2 separate regions of the Homo sapiens genome follow, and region 2 is linked to region 1. Evidence: promoter capture Hi-C in human tissues and cell types (Jung and others, 2019). All regions are on one chromosome and are shown on one strand. Each heading gives the region's core, a stretch centred on a gene start or on the middle of the fragment in contact. The rest is flanking DNA. Distances are from core to core; before and after follow the strand shown.

What was found. The method cuts DNA at HindIII sites, captures the fragments that hold promoters and counts their contacts. A contact is called where the count stands out against the background at its distance.
Region 2: a contact is called between the fragment with the promoter of GCAT here and the fragment with the promoter of FOXRED2 in region 1, in 1 of the 25 tissues and cell types used here (aorta).

What each region holds. Positions count from the first base shown.
Region 1 is chr22:36,505,349-36,510,220 of GRCh38, forward strand. It overlaps FOXRED2 (FAD dependent oxidoreductase domain containing 2), which reads right to left and starts at 1,692. Exons shown (of 9, transcript NM_001102371.2): 1 at 1,661-1,692; 2 at 548-1,075. The coding sequence starts at 1,074. RefSeq lists a silencer at 1,439-1,938. The HindIII fragment of the contact is 18,149 bases long and covers 1-4,872 here.
Region 2 is chr22:37,805,585-37,811,118 of GRCh38, forward strand. It overlaps GCAT (glycine C-acetyltransferase), which reads left to right and starts at 2,350. Exons shown (of 9, transcript NM_014291.4): 1 at 2,350-2,579; 2 at 4,443-4,573. The coding sequence starts at 2,384. It overlaps H1-0 (H1.0 linker histone), which reads left to right. Exons shown (of 1, transcript NM_005318.4): 1 at 1-1,848. The coding sequence ends at 545. RefSeq lists an enhancer at 41-736 and a silencer at 2,165-2,454. The HindIII fragment of the contact is 28,064 bases long and covers 1-4,165 here.

The DNA.
Region 1 (4,872 bases), core at 442-2,941:
CAGATAGGCTTGATTCCAAAGTCCTGCTCCTTCCATTGGTGAGGATCGCCATCCAGGGGAGGGCAGCTGGGGACTTGGATCCTGCCGGCTTGCAGAAGAATGCTTTGATCACAGAGTGGTTTCAAAAATAGAATTGAAGGCCGGGTGCGGTGGCTCATACCTGTAATCCCAGCATTTGGGGAGGCTGAGGTGGGTGGATCTCCTGAGGTCAGGAGTTCGAGACCAGCCTGGCCAACGTCGTGAAATCTCATCTCCACCAAAAATATAAAAAAATTAGCCGGGTGTGGTGGTGCTTGCCTGTAATCCCAGCTACTGGGGAGGCTGAGGCAGGAGAATCGCTTGAACTAGAGAGGCGGAGGTTGCAGTGAGCTGACCTCGTGCCATTGCACTCCAGCCTGGGCGACAGAGTGAGACTCCGTCTTAAAAAAAAAAAAAAGCGAAATACCCTTTTTCGTCCATTCCTCCCATACCTACTGGCCAATCAAGGTGTGTGGTTCGTGTGGGGAAGGTCCCAGCTTCCGCAGGTGAGCTCTGGCACCGGCCTTACCTGCACTGATGCACCTGGCCCTTCTGGTCAGTTAGGATGAAGTAGTGGCCATTCCAGGCCTGTCGGTCCTTGTCCAGAGTGACGTGGGCGATGGTGGTGTTGTACTGGACACGGAGCCCCAGCGTGTCCGCGAAGTCACCCAGGTAGCGCACCATGTCGCGGGCGTCGGGGAAGTAGGCACGCGAGTAGTGTCTGAAGAGCAGCCGGGGGTCGTGGCTGAGCAGAGAGTTCCAGTCGTGGCGGAGGTTGAACTCGGCGTTAGCCTTGCCCGTGTACCGCTTGTTGATGCTGATGAGCTTGCGGTGCCGCGGGTAGCGTGTGAAGAAGCTGCCGGGCCGCGGGGCCCGCTCGAACACTGCGTAGTCGCGTCCAGCGCGCTGCAGGAAGTAGGCCATCTGCAGGCCCGCGGGCCCAGCGCCCAGCACGCAGTAGTCCCGGCGCGGGGGCACCGACAGCGCTGGGTGCAGGGCGATGGCCAGGAGCAGCCCCGGGGGACCCCACAACGGGGCCGCAGCGGAGAGGCCCATCCTGCAGCAGATCAGAGGGGTAAGGCCTCGCACCCGGCCCGGCGGCTGGGAGACACGAGGCCCAGAAAGAGGCGGGGCCTGCGGGAACTCTCACTGCAATCTGGGTCACGGCCAGGCCCAGAAGCCGTCCTCAGAGCTCATTTGCCCGGACTCCACCGTTTCAAGCTGGGACTTGGGGCTCCCCGGAATCCCGAGCCCCTCCATCTTATCTCCCTCAGGGTCTCCTTCCTCAGGGGCACCGGCTCCCCGCTTATGATTGTAGTAACCTCCACCCTGGGGAAGGAGAGCGTACTCCCCAATTTTCCCCTAATTTGAGGGTGCCCAACACCCCTTTGAACCACCCTCCAGGTTGGACCTTCCAGAGGCCTTGGCCCCTCTCCAGCGACCGGGTGGGAGCCTGAAGTGGGTGTGGCCTGCGTGCGCCCCGCCCCCTGCCAGGGTCCGCGCGCCCCAGGCTCTTCGGCCACGTGACAGGGATGCCGCGCACACCTGCCGCCCGCCCGCGTGCGCTTCAGGAGCCGCCAGGTCCCTACGCCCGCAGCTCCGGCCTCCCCGCCTCCGACCGAACCCTGAGAAACGCGCGAACCTCCCAGCCGCTCCGGCTGCAACCCGTGGTCTAATGAGGCCGCGCTTGGCTCGCTTGCTCCGCGGCGGCTCCGCCCCTCGCGCCCGGACCAATGGCAGGGGGCGGGGTCACGTGCGCGGCGCGCGGCACGCCGGGACCAGCTGGCAGGCTGCCTGCTCCGGCCCAGCGCGGGAGAGGCGCGCGCGTGCTGCGTTCGCTGCTCCGGGGGCTGGTAGAGGGGCCTGGGGCTAGCGCGCACCCGCGAGGGTGGAAGGTCTGGAGATCCGGGATGGGGAACTGGGTCCTTCGTTTTAAAAGGTGCCTCTCTACACGGAGGGAGGGGAGCACGTGATTTTTGGAGCTAATCCTAGCTCTCATATTCCATGAATGTAGCCAAACGCTAAAACTAGTTGGCCTACCCAGTTTTGTGGGACTGGAAACCAGCGTGGTGGAGCCAGGACCGATAAGCCAATTAACAAGCGTTTGCTACAGTGACTCAGTGTACTGCTTACCAAGTAACATACACGACTGTCCTAATCTTCCACCAAATAGGAGAGGTGGGCAAGGCATTGTTTCCGACATTTGGTAGCTGACTGGTCAAATGGAGACATAGGGATGAAGGGATATGTTTACAATCACAGGAAGTGGAGCCTGGAATTAAAACTCAGTGGAGGCAAGATAAATGGCAGGAGGAAGATAACGTGAACTGGATGATGAAGGTTGGCTTCCCAGGGGTGGCAAGTGGCCCCTGCATGAGATTTACATGGGGAGAAATACGAAGTCAGTGTAGGAACCTTCAAAGTCCAGTGAAATGGGGCTGAGTGTTCTTGGGGGAAGGGCAGGTGGAAAGAACTGCGAGCCTGCAGATTTGCATGGCTGGAGATTCTTTGAATTAAAAATCGTAGCTGGGGACTCCTTAGAAAAATTTTCCTGACCTCTCAGGCCTACAAGTACCTACCAAAGAATGTCATTTACTTTTTCTTTTTTTTTTTTTTTTGAGATGGAGTCTCACTCTGTCGCCCAGGCTGGAGTGCAGTGGCGTGATCTCGGCTCACTGCAAGCTCCACCTCCCAGGTTCACGCCATTTTTCTGCCCCAGCCTCCCTAGTAGCTGGGACTACAGGTGCCCGCCACCACACCCGGCTAATTTTTTGTATTTTTAGTAGAGACAGGGTTTCACTGTGTTAGCCAGGATGGTCTCGATCTCCTGACCTCGTGATCCGCCCGCCTCGGCCTCCCAAAGTGCTGGGATTACAGGCGTGAGCCACCGCGCCTGGCCGAATGTCATTTACTTTCTTCAGTCTGTGTCAACATCAGAGAAAAGCTCCCTCAGAGCAGAAATTGTCCAGTATCTGACATACGGAAGTTTAAGCATTTGTTGAATAAGCATTGCAACCAGAGAGGTCAGGCAGAATACTTTGCCAAAAATAAAGTAGGGATGTCTTATTTCTTCTTTTTGAGACAGAGTCTCACTGTCACCCAGGCTGGAGTGCAGTGACACAATCATGGCTCACTGCAGCCCTGACCTTCCAGGCTCAAGCGATCCTGCTTCAGCCTCCCAAAGTGCTAGGGATTACAAGTGTGTGCCATGGCCCCTGGCCAATTTTTCAAAAAAATTTTTGGGGGCATATGTGTATATATTTATGGGGCATATGAGATGTTTTGATAGTCATGCAATTTGGGGATGTCTGTTTCTTAGTGGTTGTGAAGATTATGAGAATGGGTGCTGGCAAACAAGTTCCTAAAATAATTGCTGGTCTTATGTGGTGAATACAGTAGTGGGAAATTAAACAGAATTCGTCAAGTATGGTAGGGCCCTACGAGTAGGCTGAACCTAGATTGTAAGCAACAGGATGCTACTGGGAGTTTCTGAATGTAGGATTACTGCAGCAGTCAACTTGGTAGCCCCATGCAGGACAGATAAAAGCAGTGGACAGCTACTCGGGAGGCTGAGGCAGGAGAATGGCGTGAACCCAGGAGGCGGAGCTTACAGTGCCTGAGATTGCGCCACTGCACTCCAGCCTGGGCAACAGAGCAAGACTCCGTCTCAAAAAAAAAAAAAAAAAAAAAAAAGGCAGTGGAAACTGATGCAAAGTATTTTCAGGGAATGAGCTTGAGTCACTTCCACTTGCTTCTGTTAATCCTGTTGGACAGGGCCATGGTTTGCAAGAGGCAATTTGGTGAATACTGGTCCAACCTGGAAACCCCCGGCACTAGTCACACCACTTTAATCTGTTTTTTAACACTCTGTATTCACATTGAAAACTCCCCAAGTACACTTTTTCTCTCCACTGCTTCTAACACAGTTCAAGAAACCTTTTGCTTGCTGAGGTTCGATTCATTAAAATTAATTTTGTGTTTTTTCAAGCTACTTTAAAAAAAAAACCTGTAACTTTAGAAATGCTGAGCTTTTTTTGAGAGTCTCTGTAATCCAAATTGGAGTGCAGTGGTGTGATCTCAGTTCACTGCAACCTCCGCCTCCTGGGTTCGAGTGAATCTCCAGCCTCAGCCTCCCAAGTAGCTGGAATTACAGGCGTGTGCCACCATGCCTGGCTGTTTTGTATTTTTAGTAGAGACGGGGTTTTGCTATGTTGCTCAGGCTGGTTTTGAACTCCTGACCTCAAGTGATCCACCCACCTCGGCCTCCCAAAGTGCTGGGATTACAGGCATGAGCCACTGCACCTGGCCTTTTTTTTTTTGATAAAGGGTCTCCTTCTGTCACTTAGGCTGGAGTGCAGTGGTGTGATCATAGCTCACTGCAGCCTTGAACTCCTGGGCTCAAGCAATCCTCCCACCTCAGCCTCCTGAGTAGCTGGGACCACAGGTGGAAGCATCATGACTGGCTAATAATTTATTTTTTTGCAGAGACAGGCCCTGGTCTCCCTGTGTTGCCCAGGCTGGTCTCAAACTTCTAGGCTAAAGTGATCCTTCTGCCTCAGCCTCTCAAAGTGTTGGGATTAGAGGTTTGAGCCACCATGCCTGTTTCCTCACCTCTACAATGGTACTACTCCTGCCAGCATCACAGTTCTGTATGAGGCTTAGATACTACAGAAAGCTCAGCATTAATACCTGGCAGGGTAATTACTCCATCAAGTGTCCAGAACAGAACAGTGTCCACTTACATAGTTTACATAGCCTCGGCTGGGTGCGGTGGCTCACGCCTGTAATCTCAGCACTTTGGGAGGCCAAGGCGGGTAGATCACCTGAGGTCAGGAGTTCGAGACCATCCTGACC
Region 2 (5,534 bases), core at 1,100-3,599, 1.3 Mb after region 1:
AGCGGGCCAAGGCCTCCAAGAAGTCCACAGACCACCCCAAGTATTCAGACATGATCGTGGCTGCCATCCAGGCCGAGAAGAACCGCGCTGGCTCCTCGCGCCAGTCCATTCAGAAGTATATCAAGAGCCACTACAAGGTGGGTGAGAACGCTGACTCGCAGATCAAGTTGTCCATCAAGCGCCTGGTCACCACCGGTGTCCTCAAGCAGACCAAAGGGGTGGGGGCCTCGGGGTCCTTCCGGCTAGCCAAGAGCGACGAACCCAAGAAGTCAGTGGCCTTCAAGAAGACCAAGAAGGAAATCAAGAAGGTAGCCACGCCAAAGAAGGCATCCAAGCCCAAGAAGGCTGCCTCCAAAGCCCCAACCAAGAAACCCAAAGCCACCCCGGTCAAGAAGGCCAAGAAGAAGCTGGCTGCCACGCCCAAGAAAGCCAAAAAACCCAAGACTGTCAAAGCCAAGCCGGTCAAGGCATCCAAGCCCAAAAAGGCCAAACCAGTGAAACCCAAAGCAAAGTCCAGTGCCAAGAGGGCCGGCAAGAAGAAGTGACAATGAAGTCTTTTCTTGCGGACACTCCCTCCTGTCTCCTATTTTCTGTAAATAATTTTCTCCTTTTTTCTCTCTTGATGCTCACCACCACCTTTTGCCCCCTTCTGTTCTGACTTTATAAGAGACAGGATTTGGATTCTTCAGAAATTACAGAATAATTCATTTTTCCTTAACCAGTTGTGCAAGGACAGCAACAACCAATCTAATGATGAGAATGTACTTATATTTTGTTTTGCTATTAACCTACTTACGGGGTTAGGGATTTGCGGGGGGGGCTTGTGTGTTTTGTTGGCTTGTTTGCCATGAAGGTAGATGTGGGTGGGGAGAAGACACAAGGCAGTTTGTTCTGGCTAGATGAGAGGGAACCCAGGAATTGTGAGGTTAGCAGGAATATCTTTAGGGTGAGTGAGTTTTCTTTGAGTTGGGCACCCGTTGTGAGAGTTTCAGAACCTTTGGCCAGCAGGAGAGAGGTGGTAGGGAGCAGCCAGCCGGCAAAGGAAGGAGGGGGAAAAAAACCGCCACCGGGCTGACTTCCACCTCCCAGTGGTGAGCAGTGGGGGCCCAAACCCAGTTTCCTTCTCATTTTTGTTAGTTTGCGCTTTCGGCCTCCCTATTTTCTTAGGGAAGGGGAGTGGGGTCCAAGTGACAGCTGGATGGGAGAAGCCATAGTTTCTCCCAGTCAGCTAGGATGTAGCCATTGGGGGATCTTTGTGGCTTCAGCAAATTCTCTTGTTAAACCGGAGTGAAAACTTCAGGGGAAGGGTGGGGAGTCAGCCAAGTGCCTCAGTGTGCCCTGTTGAAACTTAGGTTTTTCCACGCAATCGATGGATTGTGTCCTAGGAAGACTTTTCTTTTCCTCTGGATTTTTGTTCCTCCTGTACAAGAGGTGTCTTTGCTTGGTTTGGTGGGGCTGCGGCCACTTAAAACCTCCCGATCTCTTTTTGAGTCCTTTATTATAAGTAGTTGTAGCTGCGGGAGGGGGAGGGGGAGTGGGCGGGCAGTGGATAGTAAGACTTACTGCAGTCGATTTGGGATTTGCTAAGTAGTTTTACAGAGCTAGATCTGTGTGCATGTGTGTGTTTGTGTATATATACATATCTAGGGCTAGTACTTAGTTTCACACCCGGGAGCTGGGAGAAAAAACCTGTACAGTTGTCTTTCTCTTATTTTTAATAAAATAGAAAAATCGCGCACTTGCGCGTCCCCCCCCCACCCCCTTTTTTAAACAAGTGTTACTTGTGCCGGGAAAATTTTGCTGTCTTTGTAATTTTAAAACTTTAAAATAAATTGGAAAAGGGAGAAACTGAGCGGTGTATTTTTCCTCACTTTGAAGACTGGAGAATGAATGCGGAGCGGTTAGGCGGGCAGGCAGTGGGGACATCTGGGGCGTTTGCACCTGAGAATGGCGGGGGAGGGTTCAGGAGCTGGACAGAAGCCAGGAATCCTTAGTCCCGGAGGCTGCGGAACGTGCCTTAGCCGGCTTCTAGGCTTCTGCCTTTGGGGTCCAGAGGGTACCCCATTTCCGGCCGAGAGGTGAGTACGTGGGAATGCGGTGGGGAGTCTGGTGGGCTTGGCCCTGACGCGACTTCCTCCGCCCCCTTCCCTCCCCTCTGCCATCCGGACTTCGGCAGTCTCAACTTACAAGTCAAGCCTCTCGGTCCCTGGCGGATCCCGCCAGGCCCCGCCCACCCGTCCTAGGCCCGCCTCCCCGCCTTTTTAAGCGAGCCCCCCTAGCTCCGATTGGCTGCTGGAGCCCGGCCCCCGGCCACGCGACCAGGCTGCGTCCGCGATGCGCACGGCTCCCAGGCAGGCAGGCGCGCTCGGGCGAGGTAGGAGCGATGTGGCCTGGGAACGCCTGGCGCGCCGCACTCTTCTGGGTGCCCCGCGGCCGCCGCGCACAGTCAGCGCTGGCCCAGCTGCGTGGCATTCTGGAGGGGGAGCTGGAAGGCATCCGCGGAGCTGGCACTTGGAAGAGTGAGCGGGTCATCACGTCCCGTCAGGGGCCGCACATCCGCGTGGACGGCGTCTCCGGAGGTAACGCTCCGTTCCGGGAGTCGTTCCAAGACCTTTCCCGAGCTTGCGCTGGAATGGAGGTCCTGGAGGTGGGGGTGGGCGGCTCCTACACTCTTAGCTACTGTTCCCCTTCGCATCTCTCAGGGCGACTTTATGGCTTCCTAATATTGACTCTTGCCTGGTTAAACCCTTTTGACGGAGGGAGGCGATTTGCCCAGCAAGAAAACCCGCATTTCTTGAGCGGCTCCTTTGTGAAGGTCTCTACCAATTGTTGCTGCACGTGAACTCCTGCTAACTTCTAGACGCAGGAATGACTAATTCCACTTTACAAACGAAGAGGCTGAAATCCACAGATGTGAAATGGCTTGCCCAAAAGCCCCCAGCTAGCTGCAGGCAGCGCTGGAATATTGGAGCTGGAACATTGCCTGACTGGCCAGAGAGGACAGCTTGCTGGGTAAACTCATAGCAAGCAAGGGGTCCCAGGGCTGCCACAGAAATCACATGATGAGTTGGCCCTGCCAGGTCTCCCTCATTTCTTTCTTTCCTTTTTTTTTTCTGAGATGGAGTCTCGTCTTGCTCTGTCGCCCAGGCTGGAGTGCAGTGGCGAGATCTCGGTTCACTGCAACCTCTGCCTCCCGGGTTCAAGCGATTTTCATGCCTCAGCCTCCCAAGTAGCTGGGACTACAGGCACGTGCCAGCACACCCGGCTAATTTTTGTATTTTTAGTGGAGACTGGGTTTCACCATGTTGGCCAGGCTGGTCTCGAACTCCTGACCTCAAGTGATCCTCCCGCCTCAGCCTCCCAAAGTGTTGGGATTACAGGCGTGAGCCACCACTCCCAGCCCTCCCTCATTTCACTCTAACCAGTGGTTACACCTGACTTATTCGTGTCAGGCCTCAGGTGAGTGGTAATCATCAACAAGCTCCCAAAGCTGCCTTCTGCCCAGGAAATAGGCATAGAACCCTTGGTGCTGTTGCACTCATTTGTAAAACAGAGGTCCCAGGTAATCCCTTCTCTCCCTCAGGGGAAGCTTAGAGCCGGTCAAAAGATGGGAAATTAGGAGACCCAAGTTCTCATCCTGTTTTTGCCTTTCCCAGGCTGTGTGAACTTTCCCCTCTGGCTGTTTGCTCCTAAGGTCAGCTGTGTTCACTCTGGGCTTTAGAATTCGGGGACTGGTATCTCAGGCACCTACCTTTGGGGGTGTGATTCTGGCAGCAAAGTAAACTGTGGAGTTCCAGGACTGCAGCAGGCGTCTGATCCAGCCCTCTTCTTTAACCCTCAAGGAAACCAAGGGGTCAGATAAGGAGTCAGTGGTGGTCTTCAGGCACAGGAGAAGCCTGTGAGGAAGGGCTGAGTTCCTCCTTGGGTAGAATGTGATTCAAAGCCAGAGTTTAGGCTGGGCACAGTGGCTTGTGCCTGAAATCGTAGCACTTTGGGAGGCCAAGGCAGGAGGATTGCTTGAGGCTAGGAGTTCGAGACCAGCACGGACAACATAATGAGACCCCATCTCTACAAAAAATAAAAAAATTTAATCGGGCATGGTGGCACGCACCTGTAGTCCCAGCTACTCAGGAGGTTAAGTGGGAGGATTGCTTGAGCCTGGGAGGTTGGGGCTACAGTGAACCATGATTGCACCACTGTACTCCAACCTGGGCGACAGAGCTAGACCCTGTCTCAAAAAAAAAAAAGTTTAAACTTCTTGCTCTTCAAGATGTGTAGCACTGACGCTCCTTCTGTAGCTGTTGAATTTGGTGCCTCCTCAATGGTGACTCCAGGTCTGTTTCCTTTCTGGACCATTTCCCCAGGGCCTGGCACTGTCATCTTTCCAGGCCTGCCCTTGCCCCACCTGAGCTGCTGTATCCATCTCCTCTCCTTCACCTCAGGAATCCTTAACTTCTGTGCCAACAACTACCTGGGCCTGAGCAGCCACCCTGAGGTGATCCAGGCAGGTCTGCAGGCTCTGGAGGAGTTTGGAGCTGGCCTCAGCTCTGTCCGCTTTATCTGTGGAACCCAGGTACACAGTGAGTGGTGGGGGGTTGTGGGGACTGACCCCAGCTGCCTGCTTCCCACAGTCAGCAAGGCTGGTTTAGCCAGCTCAGCTCAGCCACAGCCCTGGGCCTACTGTTGGCCTCAGAGCTGTGCAGCAGAAAGGCTGAGTGCAGGCCTCTGTTTTGCTGAAAAGCTTTGGCCAAGGAACTTTATATATATATTTTTTCTTTTTGAGACAGAGTCTTGCTCTGTCACCCAGGCTGGAGTGCAGTGGCACAATCTTGGCTCCCTGTAACCTTCGCCTACCAGACTCAAGGGATTCTCCATGCCTCAGCCTCCTGAGTAGCTGCGATTACAGGCATGCTACCACACCCAGCTAATTTTTTTTTTTTTTTTTTTTTTGAGATGGAGTCTCGCTCTGTCGCTGAGGCTGGAGTGCGGTGGCATGATCTTGGCTACTGCAAGCTGCGCCTCCCAGGTTCACGCCATTCTCCTGCCTCAACCTCCCGAGTAGCTGGGACTACAGGCGCCTACCACCACTCCCGGCTAATTTTTTGTATTTTTAGTAGAGACGGGGTTTCACTGTGTTAGCCAGGATGGTCTCGATCTCCTGACCTCGTGATCCACCCACCTTGGCCTCCCAAAGTGCTGGGATTACAGGCGTGAGCCACCGCACTCGGCCTAATTTTTATATGTTTAGTAGAGATGGGGTTTCACCATGTTGGCCAGGCTGGTCTTGAACTCCTGGCCTCAAGTGATCTCCTCCACCTTGGCCTTCCAAAGTGGAAACTGCCTTTTTGAGCATTCATTTTCCCACCTGCAAAACAGAGTCCCTCACACCTGACCTTCTATAAGAAAAGAGGAGTAGGCGGCAGGAACTGAGACTAAGGGCTCTGGGGCTGTTCTGACGGGAGCACAGTTGCCAGTGCTGCCCTTTAGTGTCCCTGTTCCTGTGGGCAAGTATCTTAACTTTTCTCTGTCTCAAT